Linked DNA regions of Homo sapiens: region 2 is linked to region 1. Evidence: promoter capture Hi-C in human tissues and cell types (Jung and others, 2019). All regions are on one chromosome and are shown on one strand. Each heading gives the region's core, a stretch centred on a gene start or on the middle of the fragment in contact. The rest is flanking DNA. Distances are from core to core; before and after follow the strand shown.

Region 1 (5,806 bases), core at 2,657-5,156:
ACAAACATACAATTTGATAGAAAGAATAAGTTCTGGTATTCAGTAGTACAGTAGGGTGATATGTTGTATATTTCAAAAGAGCTAGAAGAAAAGATAATGCAATGTTCCCAACACAAAGAAATGATAGGCCGGGCGCAGTGGATCACTTGAACCCAAGAGTTCAGGACCAACCTGGGCAACATAGTGAGACCCTGTCTCTACTACAAATTTTAAAAAAAGAGCCAGGCATGGTGGCTCGCACCTGTGGTCTCAGATACTTGGGAGGCTGAGGTGGGTGGATTGCTTGAGCCGGGGAGTTGGAGGCTGCAGTGAGCTGTCATCATGCCACTACACTCAAGCCTGGGTGACAGATTGAGACCCTGTCTCAAAAAAGAAGAAATAATAAATATTCAAGGTGATGGAGATAACTAAATACCCTGATGTGATCATTATACACTGTATGCATGTATCAAAATATAAGCTGTTCCCCATAAATATGTACAAATATTATGTTTGGCTTTTATTTTTTATTTTTTATTTTTTTGAGATGGAGTCTCAAAAGGCTGAAGTGCAGTATGGCTCACTGCAACCTCCGCCTCTGGGCTTCAAGTGATTCTCCTGGCTCAGCCTCCTGAGTAGTAGCTGGGACTATAGGCATGCAACACCATGCCTGGCTAACTTTTGTATTTTTGGTAGAGACGGGGTTTCACTATATTCGCCAGGCTGGTCTCAAATTCCTGTCGTCAGGTGATCTGCCCATCTCGGCCTCCCGAAGTGTTTGGATTACAGATGTGAGCTATTGCACCTGGCCTTGTTTGTATTTTTTTTAAAGCTGGTTCATGTCCCAGGCACCCTTTAGTCAATCCCACCAGTGCCCACTGAACAGAGCTTTCAGACATCTTTTTTTTTTTTTTTCTGAGATGGAGTCTCACAGTTGCCCAAGCTGGAGTGCAGTGGCATGATCTTGGCTCACTACAATCTCCCCGTCCTGGGTTCAAGCGATTCTTCTGCCTCAGCCTCCCAAGTAGCTGGGACTACAGGCGCCTGCCACCATGCCCAGCTAATTTTTGTATTTTTAGTAGGGACAGAGTTTCACTATGTTGTCCAGGCTGCTCTGGAACTCGTGACCTCATGATCCGCCTGCCTCGGCCTCCCAGTGTGCTGAGATTACAGGCGTGAGCCACTACGCCTGGCCCACAAATCTTTTTAGTACCTCATACTTAAGTAAATATGAGCAGTCAGATAGTTGAGGAATGAGAGCCTGGGACCAAGATATGTCGAGGAAATAGCATAGGAAGCATAAGAAAGCTGGAAAATAACCTATAAATAATGGCAAAAAAAAAAAGCAAACAATAGGAAGAGGAACTATATAAAAGGAACATTTGGAGCATAGAAGAGAGTTCATGGAAATGTAAAAAATGATGGTACCCTGGGTTTGATATAGTAAGTAAAAAACTAAGGGTAAGAGGGTCATGAAAGCATCTAGAAGTAGGAGGGAAAGCCAGTCAAATTCACAGGATGAAGTCAGGAAGATAATAGAGCAGTGCCCGCAAGATCCTGAGGGAAAGCAAGTTCCAATCTATAAGTCTGTAACCCTCACACCTGATGGCCCCTTGAACATATTCAGGGCTTCAAAAGATTGATCTGTCATGCACCGTCTGCCATGATACTGTGTGAGGATGTGTTCTTCTTCTTAAACATTAAATCAAGAAAGAATCAACAGTGGACCCAGTAAATAGCAGATCAGCCTAGGATAAGATGCCCTAGAAGATGGTGAAGGGAAGTCTCAGAACTACTGTTCTTCAGCAGGCAGCGAAGACACCTGATCCATATTGGAGTGGTGGGATGCGAGCTTCAGGAAGGGATGCCACAAGGAAAAGTGGAAGGGATGATGACTGTCTTCAAGAGGTTACAGGTCTTTAAGAATTTACACGTGAATTGGAGATAAATACAGAGAAAATGAAACACATCAGTAATTCAGTAGTTACCAAGCCCAGAAAGACCAAGTCATACCATGTAGTAAATATAACCAAGGTGCACCAAGGCATTCAACTGTGACTAGTATTAATGGCGTAAAAAGTAATGCCAGCGCTGGAGACTGGCTTAACAACAACAAACACCACTTCATCAGGAGGATGGGTCGGGGCAGGTGCTATGTAAGTGGTAAAACAGCTGTTTGTATCCTTCACTGAAGAATTTATTAGATTTTTATCTAAAATTATGAAGTAGGCCAGGCACGATGGCCCACTCCTGTAATCCCATCACTTTGGGAGGCTGTGGCGGGCGGATCACTTGAGGTCAAGAGTTCGAGACGAGCCTGGCCAACGTGGTGAAACCCTGTCTCTACTACAAATACAAAAATTAGCCAAGTGTGGTGGTGGGTGCCTGTAATCCCAGCTACTTGGGAAGCTGAGGCAGGAGAATTGCTTGAACCCAGGAAGCAGAGGTTGCAGTGAGCCGAGATCATGCCACTGCACTCCATTCTGGGTGACAGAGCTGGACACCCTCTCAAAAAAAAAAAGTAAATAAAATTATGAAAAGCATGTTATTTAGAAATAGGCTAAATACCAGAAGAAGCTGCTGTGTGAGTCAAAAGTGACTCCTTCCAGAACTTGGGAATGGGAGGAGGAAGGGGAGAGAGACAGCTCCAGAGGAGTCAGTTACATGGCTTCCTCCCAGGCCACTCCTAGAGTCGTGCACTAGGTGTGCCCTAGTTACAAACCTTGTCCTGTCAGTATTTGACTTTTTAAATGATGCATACGTATTGCTTTGATAAAAACAGAAACAAAGATTGTTCTGAAATTAGTAACATCCGTAACTTCAAAGATGATTATTACAGGTGACAAAGGTAATCAAAAGTTATTTTAAACTTTTGTCTTTAAGCATTGAAATGATATTACTGTCTGTCACGACAATCTTTTCAATTTGGAATTCTTCTTTTTTTCTTTTTTTCAGTTTGTATGCCAGAAGAAGGGTTTAAAGGTAAGTTACATTTGTCATGTTTTGTTCATGAATGTCAGAGTCATCCTGTAATTTTCTGTTAAAGCGAAGGCTATAATTTGATTTTAAATTTTAATCCAATCTGAGTCTCATGACTGAAATTAATTTTAGTTAAATGCATTTCTTACTCAAGCTTCTTCATTATCTTTTTCAACACTCAGGCCTCAAATGGGGCCTCAGCTGGGGCTTTTGTGTTAGAACTGTTTCTTGCCAGATGTCCATTTGGCCTTCCCTTTCTCATTTTATGGGAGGTTGGGAAATTAGCTAGTGGCATTTCAAGATTTATTTTTAACCTTTTCCCAGTTCTTCCTATCAAGTCCCCTCCTAGAGCAAAACAGTGTGTAACTATTAAGAATTAGTGGCACAAGAATTTGTCAGGTTTTATCAAGTCCAGTGAAAAGATTTAATTAATCACTTAGCATTAAGGCATTTGTTGGATTATTACTTCAAGAGGAGACACGGTGGTGCTCGTACTACATCTGGGCCATGTAGTTGTGCACACCGATAATATTCAAGAAGTCATCAAATACAGACCTCTGACGTTTTCGGATTTTCCTGTTGCTGTCTTGATTCTTTGCTGGCCACTCCAGAAGCCCCTGGCAGGTTGTGATTTTCTAAGGAATGACTTTGAATCACATACCAGCTATTCCTTGCTAAAGCAAATGAGAGACAAATCTACTGGCCAAAATAAAGTCTTCCTCTTGCTGCAGCTGTGTTGTCTGCATGCTACCATTACAAAGGGACTCCTGATGGGGTCAAAACAAAGCAAAAAACGTCTTTATGAAAAATGGTCATTGGCCGGGCATGGTGGCTCACGCCTGTAATCCCAGCACTTTTGGAGGTTGAGACGGGTGGGTCACTTGAGGTCAGGAGTTCGAGACCAGTCTGGCCAACATGGTGAAACCCCATCTCTACTAAAAATACAAAAATTAGCCGGGCATGGTGGCGTGCGCCTGTAATCTCAGCTACTTGGGAGGCTGAGGCAGGAGAATGCTTGAACCTGGGAGATAAGGTTGCAGTGAGCCAGGATTGCACCACTGCACTCCAGCCTGGGCGACAAGAGTGAAACTCTCAGAAAAGAAGAATGGTCATTAAATGAAAGAATCAATAAAATCTGGTTAGTTTGTGTGAAGATACACTTAGGAAGCACATGGCTTTCAACAAAAATGTGATTTAGCGGAGAGCCTGGAGTCTGCTGGTATTTTGTCTTATCCTCCCACACCAAGGTGCGACTGTGTTCATTTATTAAATTTGATGCTCCCTGTTGATGATGTGTTCTTGGTAAATGGAATCCATGAACTTTTAATCTGTAGTTCACAACTATCCCTCCACGTGTGTTTCTTTTCCCAGGTACTGGTCTTCTTGGACATTAATCTTTGAATACTTGCTGACTGCTAAGAAATGACCAGAGGGGAAGAGGAGTTTGACATGTTAGGGCATTAAAGCAAAGGTGGATTTAAGAATTAAACCATTACATGCCCCTTCCAAAAGGCAGAAATCCATTCAAACGTGACTGTCCCAAATGCCTTATGTCAAATAAAGCAGATTGCACTGATGGACATCAGACTTGAAGGAAATGTTTCCAATTTTATATTTAAGGGGGGTGGTGGGTGGGAGGGGGCAAGTAAAGACGGAACAAGTTTAGTAGCAGTAATAGTAAATCATGTTTACATATGAGATTTATAGTCGTGGGAGGGGAATAAAGTTCTGTTATATTTCCTTGCTCGAGTTTCATACCAGATGCGTTGGTCCATAAAGGATTGTATCAAGTAGATGGGACAACATTCTGCTCTGAACGAAAAGTAATTTTAGAGACATAACCTGCTTACCAATGCCTGTCTTTGATTCATATTCTACTTTCAATAAAGCATGAAAGTGAAGAACTTGTCCTAAGTGTGGAAAAGTGTCTTCAGATTTAGACTCTTCTCCATGTCAGCTGCAGCGCCACCCGCCTTACACCTGCCCGGCCGTCTGTCTCTTGGTATTGGGTAAAGGAGGGGGCACCTGCATGTCTCCTGCAATGAGCAAGGAATTATGTCTCATGTTTTGACTTCAGAGGCTTTTTGCTTTGGTGCATTTCAGAAAGGATGGAGAACATTTATTATGTGTGAAAGCATCCTCTTCCGGTTTTGCTGTTATTCAAAAGTGGGAAATGTACCTGGCACGTTTGAAAATAAAAAATCTGACTACCTATCAGAAGAGTAAATCAGACTGAAGTACATTTGGATAACACAAGGTTTCTATAAAATTTGTTCTTCCTGTCCTCCATGTCACTGTTTCTTGGACCTCAGTTCTCTTTTTGAAAGCATTATTCCAAAATGCCCTGAGAGGGTCTCTTAGATCATTGTTTAAAAAAGGAAAAAAGTATATGGATGTGCTGTCCATCCAACTCAGGATTATCATTCTTAGCAACACGTAACCGAAGCAATATTCTTAAGAATATTGAAGGGGTTTTTTTAATTGAACTTAAGACTGGAGTTTTTCCTTTGAAAAAAAAAAAAAAGTTTTCTCTGTTGAGTCCGTCTGTGTAAGTTTGTGGCTGAGATGCTAGCTTAGGCATCTCTCTTGTTAACACTTTTCTTGGCCTTGGGTTTGTGCAAGGCTTTTTCCCCCTTTCATGAAAATGTGAACTCAGATCATGGATGGGGAAGGCAGATTTTGATTTGAGACCCGATAACCTTGGCAGCATCCCTTTTGAATAGCTCCTTTTGTCAGAGTAATTACGGCCATTTGGTAAAATTCTAACTTCGTGTTTGTGTTTCCCCTCTGTGTTTCTAATGTCTTCAGTCTGTGTCCCCTGAGGAGGCAGGGGGTCTCTAATGAGCCT
Region 2 (5,991 bases), core at 1,273-3,772, 320 kb before region 1:
TATTGCTTGGACCTAGGAGGTCAAGGCTGCAGTAAGCTGAGATCACACCACTGCACTCCAGCCTGGGCAACACAGCAAGACCCTGTCTCAAAAAAAAAAAAAACAAAGAAAAGAAAAGAAAAGAAAAAAGCACTGAGGAAATGAATTGTTAACATTTTTAATGTAAGTAAATTTCAGCTGGGTGCAGTGACTCACACCTGTAATCCCAGCACTTTGAGAGGCCGAGGCAGGTGGATCACCTGAGGTCAGAAGCTCCAGACTGGCCTGGCCAACACAGTGAAACCCTGTCTCTACTAAAAATACAAAATTAGCCGGGCTTGGTGGCGCGTGCCTGTAATCCCAGCTACTTGGGAGGTGAGGTAGGAGAATTGCTTGAACCCGGGTGGCAGAGTTTGCAGTGAGCCAAGATTGTGCCATTGCACTTCAGCCTGGGCAACAAGAGTGAAACTCTGTCTCAATAATAATAGTAATAATAATTTAATTTAATTTTTTTTTTTGAGACAGAGTCTCACTCTGTTGCCCGGGGCTGGAGTGCAGTGGTGCAATCTTGTCTCACTGCAACCTCCAACTCCCAGGTTCAAGGGATTCTCCTGCCTCAGCCTCCTGAGTAGCTGGGATTACAGGCGTGAGCCACCGCACCTGGCCTAATTTAATTAAATTTAAATAGCCACAGCACATCAAGTCCAGCCTTCTGAGCTTCCCTCCACTGGCCTTACAAGATCCCTCACTCCCTTATTGCTTTCAGACCTCAAAGCCCTGTAGTATCATCCTAGGAATCTAGAAATGAGTCTCTCAAAATCTCACTTCGTCAACACAGTGCCTGAAATTCCACCATCAGTGTGCCAACTCCTTGAGTTTAGCATTTCCTTCACCCCCGATTCCAATTTTAAGTTGCAAATAGCCCAGTGAGGGTTACAGATGAAACGGGCAAAACCTCCCCGTGAAGTAGATGGTCCAAGGGCTGCCTGGTCTTTGGAAGCTGAAGTGGACATTGCAAAGGGAGCAATGGTGTCAAGGCTGGATGCCACGCCATTAGAGCTTAGGGTCCAGAGCCCACGGTGGGAATGAGGGCAGCTGCTATTGCTCTTACCTGCCAGGGCCAGCTGTAGGGGACCGCATCCTCACCATGGACAACGCGGCTGGAAGAGTGAGAGGAAGGTGGGCCATAGCCTGAGGCTAGAGGGGAGAGGAGAGCTGTCAATCAGCTGGAGGGTCCCCAAAAGCAAAGAGGAGGCCAGGGTCCCAGTCCAAGCCATGCCTTCAACTGGCTGTGTGACCCCATGCAAGCCCCTTTCGCCCTCTGGACCTCAGTAACCACATATGAACAGTGAACATTTAAACTAGAGCAGGGCTTTCCAGAATCCCAGGAGTCCAGGGATAGAGATTCAAATGTGGCCTCCTTCATTGGGAGGATTGAAGAGCTTGATACACTTAGAACAATGCCTGGCCCTCGATGAGCCCTCAAAAAGTGAGAGCTATTGTCATACAGAGTGGAGGCTTTAAAGAAGGACTTCCTGGGTTCAAAGTGCAGCTCTGGGCTGTGTGTGGTGGTTCACACCTGTAATCCTAGTGCTCTGAGAGGCCGAGGCGGGAGGATCGCTTGAGCCCGGGAGTTTGAGACCAGCCTGGGCAACATAGCAAGACCTCATCTCTAGAAAAATAAAGTACAATAAAATAAAGTAGCCAGGTATGGTGGCATGTGCCTATAATCTCAGCTACTCAGGAGGCTAAGGTGGTAGGATTGCTTGAGGCCAGGATTTTGAGACCAGTCTGGGCAACAAAGCAAGACCCCATCTCTACAAAAAAAAAGCAAAAAATAAAAACATTAAGTGCAGCTCTGCCTTTTGTTCTATGATAAGCTACTTTACTTCCTTGAGGGTCAGTAAAATGGGGGATAATGATAGTACTGATCTCCTGAGGCTGTTGTGAGAATTACATGAGAAAGTATAAGAAAATCCCTAAACATTCTGCCTGGCATAGTAAGCACTCAATCAATGTTATCTGTTACCATTATTGTCAGTCAAGGGAGGCTGTTTGGAAGAGGTGGCCCTGAGCTGGAATGTAATATGGCAGAGAGACCAGGAAAAGGCCAGAGCATAGAATATGGAGCCAGGTAGGGGGAGTGAGAGGAGAGTTGGAGTGGTAAGTAGAACTGTGGAAATTCCAACCCAAGAAGTCCAACCACACAGTCCAAACTCTTAACCGTTTGACTTTGTTTACTGCCCCCATCAAGGACTTCCACCACAGCCCTTTGGGGGTCTTTCACCATCCACAGCTTCCCCTCCACTCTCCTGCTCCATCATAAGCTGAAAGCCCCTACAGTCATGCCCCCGGGTACAAGCTGAGACCCCCTCCTGTGGAACCAGGCATAGCATGTCATGGGACTCAGAGCGAGTGGTAGATTTCAAGGATTCCTAGTCCAGGGCAGCCCAGGGAGCACACAGACAGGTTGGGGTCTTACCAACGGCCACAAGGAGGAGGGAACTGAGCAGCCGGAGCATCATGAGTTTTGTGATGATAGGAAAAGGGCACAGAGCCTGGGGCTCTAATATAGGGCAGAAGGTAAGCAGGGGGGCTGATTGGGCCCCACTCCCAGAACAGGTGGTGGAACTCCAGGTCTCCCATGGTCCAAGGCCACAGTCCTCGCCTGCTGCAGATGGACAAGTGACAGCCAAAGGGAGGACCTAGCGTTCCCTCCAACAGGTGGCTGGACAGGTGGTGTGGAGTGGCCAACTGATAACAAGAGTTCAGGAAGAAAAGCTCATGTCAGGACAAGACCTCCTCTTTCGGAAAGAACAGGGGCACTGGAACCGGGCAGACCACGGTTCAATCCTGGTTCTGCCACCTTCAAGCTCTGCGACTTTGGGCGCATGGCTTAACCTCTCTGAGTCTCAGTTTTCTGCTCTCTAACATGAGATTTATATTAGTACCCACCTCCACAAAAAAATTCTTGTTGAGCACTTTTTCTCTATGTATCAGGCACTGTTCTAGGGGATACAGCTGTGAAAAATGCATGGTCTCAGCCCTTCTAGAGTTTGAGTCTAGGCCAGGAGCGGTGGCTCACACCTGTGATCCCAGCGCTTTGGGAGGCCAAGGTGGGAGGATCACTTGAGGTCAGAAGTTCGAGACATGATGAAACCCTATCTCTACTAAAACTACAAAAATTAGCCAGGTGTGGTGGTGAGCACCTGTAATCCCAGCACCTGTAATCCTAGCTACTGGGAGGCTGAGGGAGGAGAATCACTTGAACCTGGGAGCGGAGAGGCAGAGGCTACAGAGAGCCGAGATCATGCCACTGCACTCCAGCCTGGGCCACAGAGCAACACTGTCTCAAAAAACAAAAACAAAACCAAAAAAAAAAACAGAGAAGAAAAGAAAATGAAACATAGGTGATTGGGGTAGGAATGGGAGTAAGTCATTTAGATGGGGGGGACAGAGAAAGTGACATTTGGGCTGAGGAGGTCATATCTGATGGAGTCCTGAGGATAAGTAAAAGCCAGCCACGGGAATCCCTGAAAGAAACGCGCTCTGAAGGGAGGCGACAGCAGGTGCGAAGTTCTGGAGGCTGCAATGGGCTTGACTTGTTCAAGGAAGGGGAGGCCAGTGTGACAGGAGCTTGGTAGTCAAAGTAGAGAGGGGTGGGAGATGAGGTCAAAGAGCAGGCGACCCCGAAAGTGGAATTCACAGGTGATCCAGCCGTTTCCCTCCTAGGTCTATACCGTGAGAAAACCTTAGGCATGTGCTCCAGGAGGTGTGGATGAGATTGTTTGCCGCAGCCCCTGTTCTCAAAACTCAACAGCAAAGACCTAGAAACAACTCCCACGTCCATCAAGGTTCATAGGTCAATATGTGTAGCATATTCACACAATAGATTTTTTTTTTTATAGTGGTGCGATCTTGGCTCACTGCAACCTCCACCTCACGGGTTCAAGCGATTCTCCTGCCTCAGCCTCCTGAGTAGCTGGGATTACAGGCGCGCACCACCACGCCCGGCTAATTTTTGTATTTTTAGTAGAGACGGGGTTTCACCATGTTGGCCAGGCTGGTCTCCAACTCCTGACCTCTGGTGATCCACCCACCTCGACCTCCCAAAGTACTGGGATTACAGGCATGAGCCACTGCATCCGGCCAGACGGGGCAATTTAAATAGATCCCTCCTGGGGGAAAGTCAGGCATCTTGCTGAGCAGGTTTTGTTTTAGGAGTGAACCCCCTCCAATCACAGCCTAGCCACTCTGATAGCCTGGGTTCGTGGAACGTGTGTGGACACAAGGGAAGCAGCTGTGAAAATCCTTTATACTGTGATAAAAATAGCCATGCCCTCCCCTACCCTCTGTTCCCTATGTGCCCGGACATGTTTGCTCAGCTTGAAAGCTCTGAGCCATTCCCCAGACCCTACGCCAGGGAAGAAGGAGGGAGGGGCCCAGGAGGTGGCTGGGGAGAGATAGGGTTAGGTCCGATAAGCCCAGATTCCACTGTAGAGTGTCTGAAACCCACAGGGCCTAAAACGCGATCTAATCCAACCACTTTTATTTGACAGAAGGGAAAATGATGGGCCAGGCACAGTGGCTCACGCCTGTAATCCCAACACTTTGGGAGGCCGAGGAGGGTGGACCACCTGAGGTCAGGAGTTCGAGACCAGCCTGACCAACATGGAGAAACCCCATCTCTACTAAAAACACAAAATTAGCCGGGTGTGGTGGCACATGCCTGTAATCCCAGCTACTAGGGAGGGTGAGGCAGGAAAATCGCTTGAACCTGGGAGGCGGAGTTTGCGGTGAGCCGAGATCGTGCCATTGCACTCCAGCCTGGGCAATAAGAGCAAAACTCTGTCACAAAAAAAAAAAAAAGAAGAAGAAAATGATGACCCAGAGAAAAGCCAGGACTTGGTCAAGTTTCCCTGGTTTGTTACTGCTTGGCCTGGTGAAGGGTAGCCCACGGACACGGGAGGGTCCACTCTCCCTCCCCCAACTTCAACCGAGAAGCCTTCCCGGCTTCTTACCCAGGTGACCTTGAGCAAGTCCCAGCCTCTCTGTCGGCTCTGCTGGGTCCCCAGGGAGAGGGGCTCCCTGACGCCAACTGTCCCACCACAACCCCTGCCTGATTGGTTACTTCAAGGCCTTATGGACTGACACTGGCAGTTGCACGGCTGATTAACTCTCCGAGGGTTTTCTGGCCTAGGAGTAGCTTGAGTGAAATCCCTGAAGATGAACCTCCTTCCAACACCTGCCCCGCAAGAGGGAAGATGGAGGGGTTAGATCTACTTTAGGCCTCAGCCTGAAGCAAAGCAAGCCATTTCCTGAATGGGAGGTGGAGGTTAGGTCGGAGAGTATGCAAAATTAGGAGGTCAGTCTGGGAAGGAGAGGGAGGGCGGGGAAGCTGGCGAGGGGACGGAGGGGAAGCTGGTGAGCCTTTTTCCCGGGACTGGGGGAGTTCCATTCTTTCCAGTTCCCACCCCACAGGAAGCTCTTTGAGGATCAAAACTTTATCTTATTCATCTTCCGATTCCCAGTACCTAGAAGGGAGCCTGGCACATGGTAGGTTTTCAACAGCATTTATTCAAGGAGACAACAAATGAATGAAGGAAGGGAAAGGACTCTTCAAATGCCCTCCGCTTCCTACCCTGAAAGCACGGTTGAGCCTGATATTCATGCAGGATGCACCTGGAGGGTGTCCCCTCTGTGTGGCCTGGAAAAGCGCAGCAGCATCTGGATGGTGTCCTGATGGGCACATTCTAGAGATATTAATAGATGTTTGATGATAAATGGACCCACTAGAACGGAGCCCCCATGGGGCGGGGGGTTTTGTGTGCTTTGTTCACTGCTGTGGCCTCGGCTCCCAGAATATAACCCAGTGGGCACTCAGTGAAGAACTAAAGGTCAGATGGGATTGGAAAATATGAGCTCAAACAAAGTTCAAATTGTCCTTTCCTACAGGACTTCTCAGAGCCTTTAATATGCCAGTGTTCACGGTGAATCACACACAGTGGTCCT

The links. The method cuts DNA at HindIII sites, captures the fragments that hold promoters and counts their contacts. A contact is called where the count stands out against the background at its distance.
Region 2: the fragment with the promoter of CELA3A here is called in contact with a fragment that was not itself captured in region 1 in 2 of the 25 tissues and cell types used here (spleen and thymus).

The regions. Positions count from the first base shown.
Region 1 is chr1:21,677,963-21,683,768 of GRCh38, reverse strand. USP48 (ubiquitin specific peptidase 48) reads left to right here. Exons shown (of 27, transcript NM_032236.8): 26 at 2,935-2,961; 27 at 4,330-5,471. The coding sequence ends at 4,352. Among named protein-coding and RNA genes, the nearest start is that of RAP1GAP, 12 kb to the right of the region's middle. The HindIII fragment of the contact is 5,470 bases long and covers 1,172-5,806 here.
Region 2 is chr1:21,998,188-22,004,178 of GRCh38, reverse strand. CELA3A (chymotrypsin like elastase 3A) reads right to left here and starts at 2,522. Exons shown (of 8, transcript NM_005747.5): 1 at 2,462-2,522; 2 at 1,091-1,176. The coding sequence starts at 2,504. It also overlaps a transcript of CELA3B not described here. The HindIII fragment of the contact is 21,174 bases long and covers 1-5,991 here.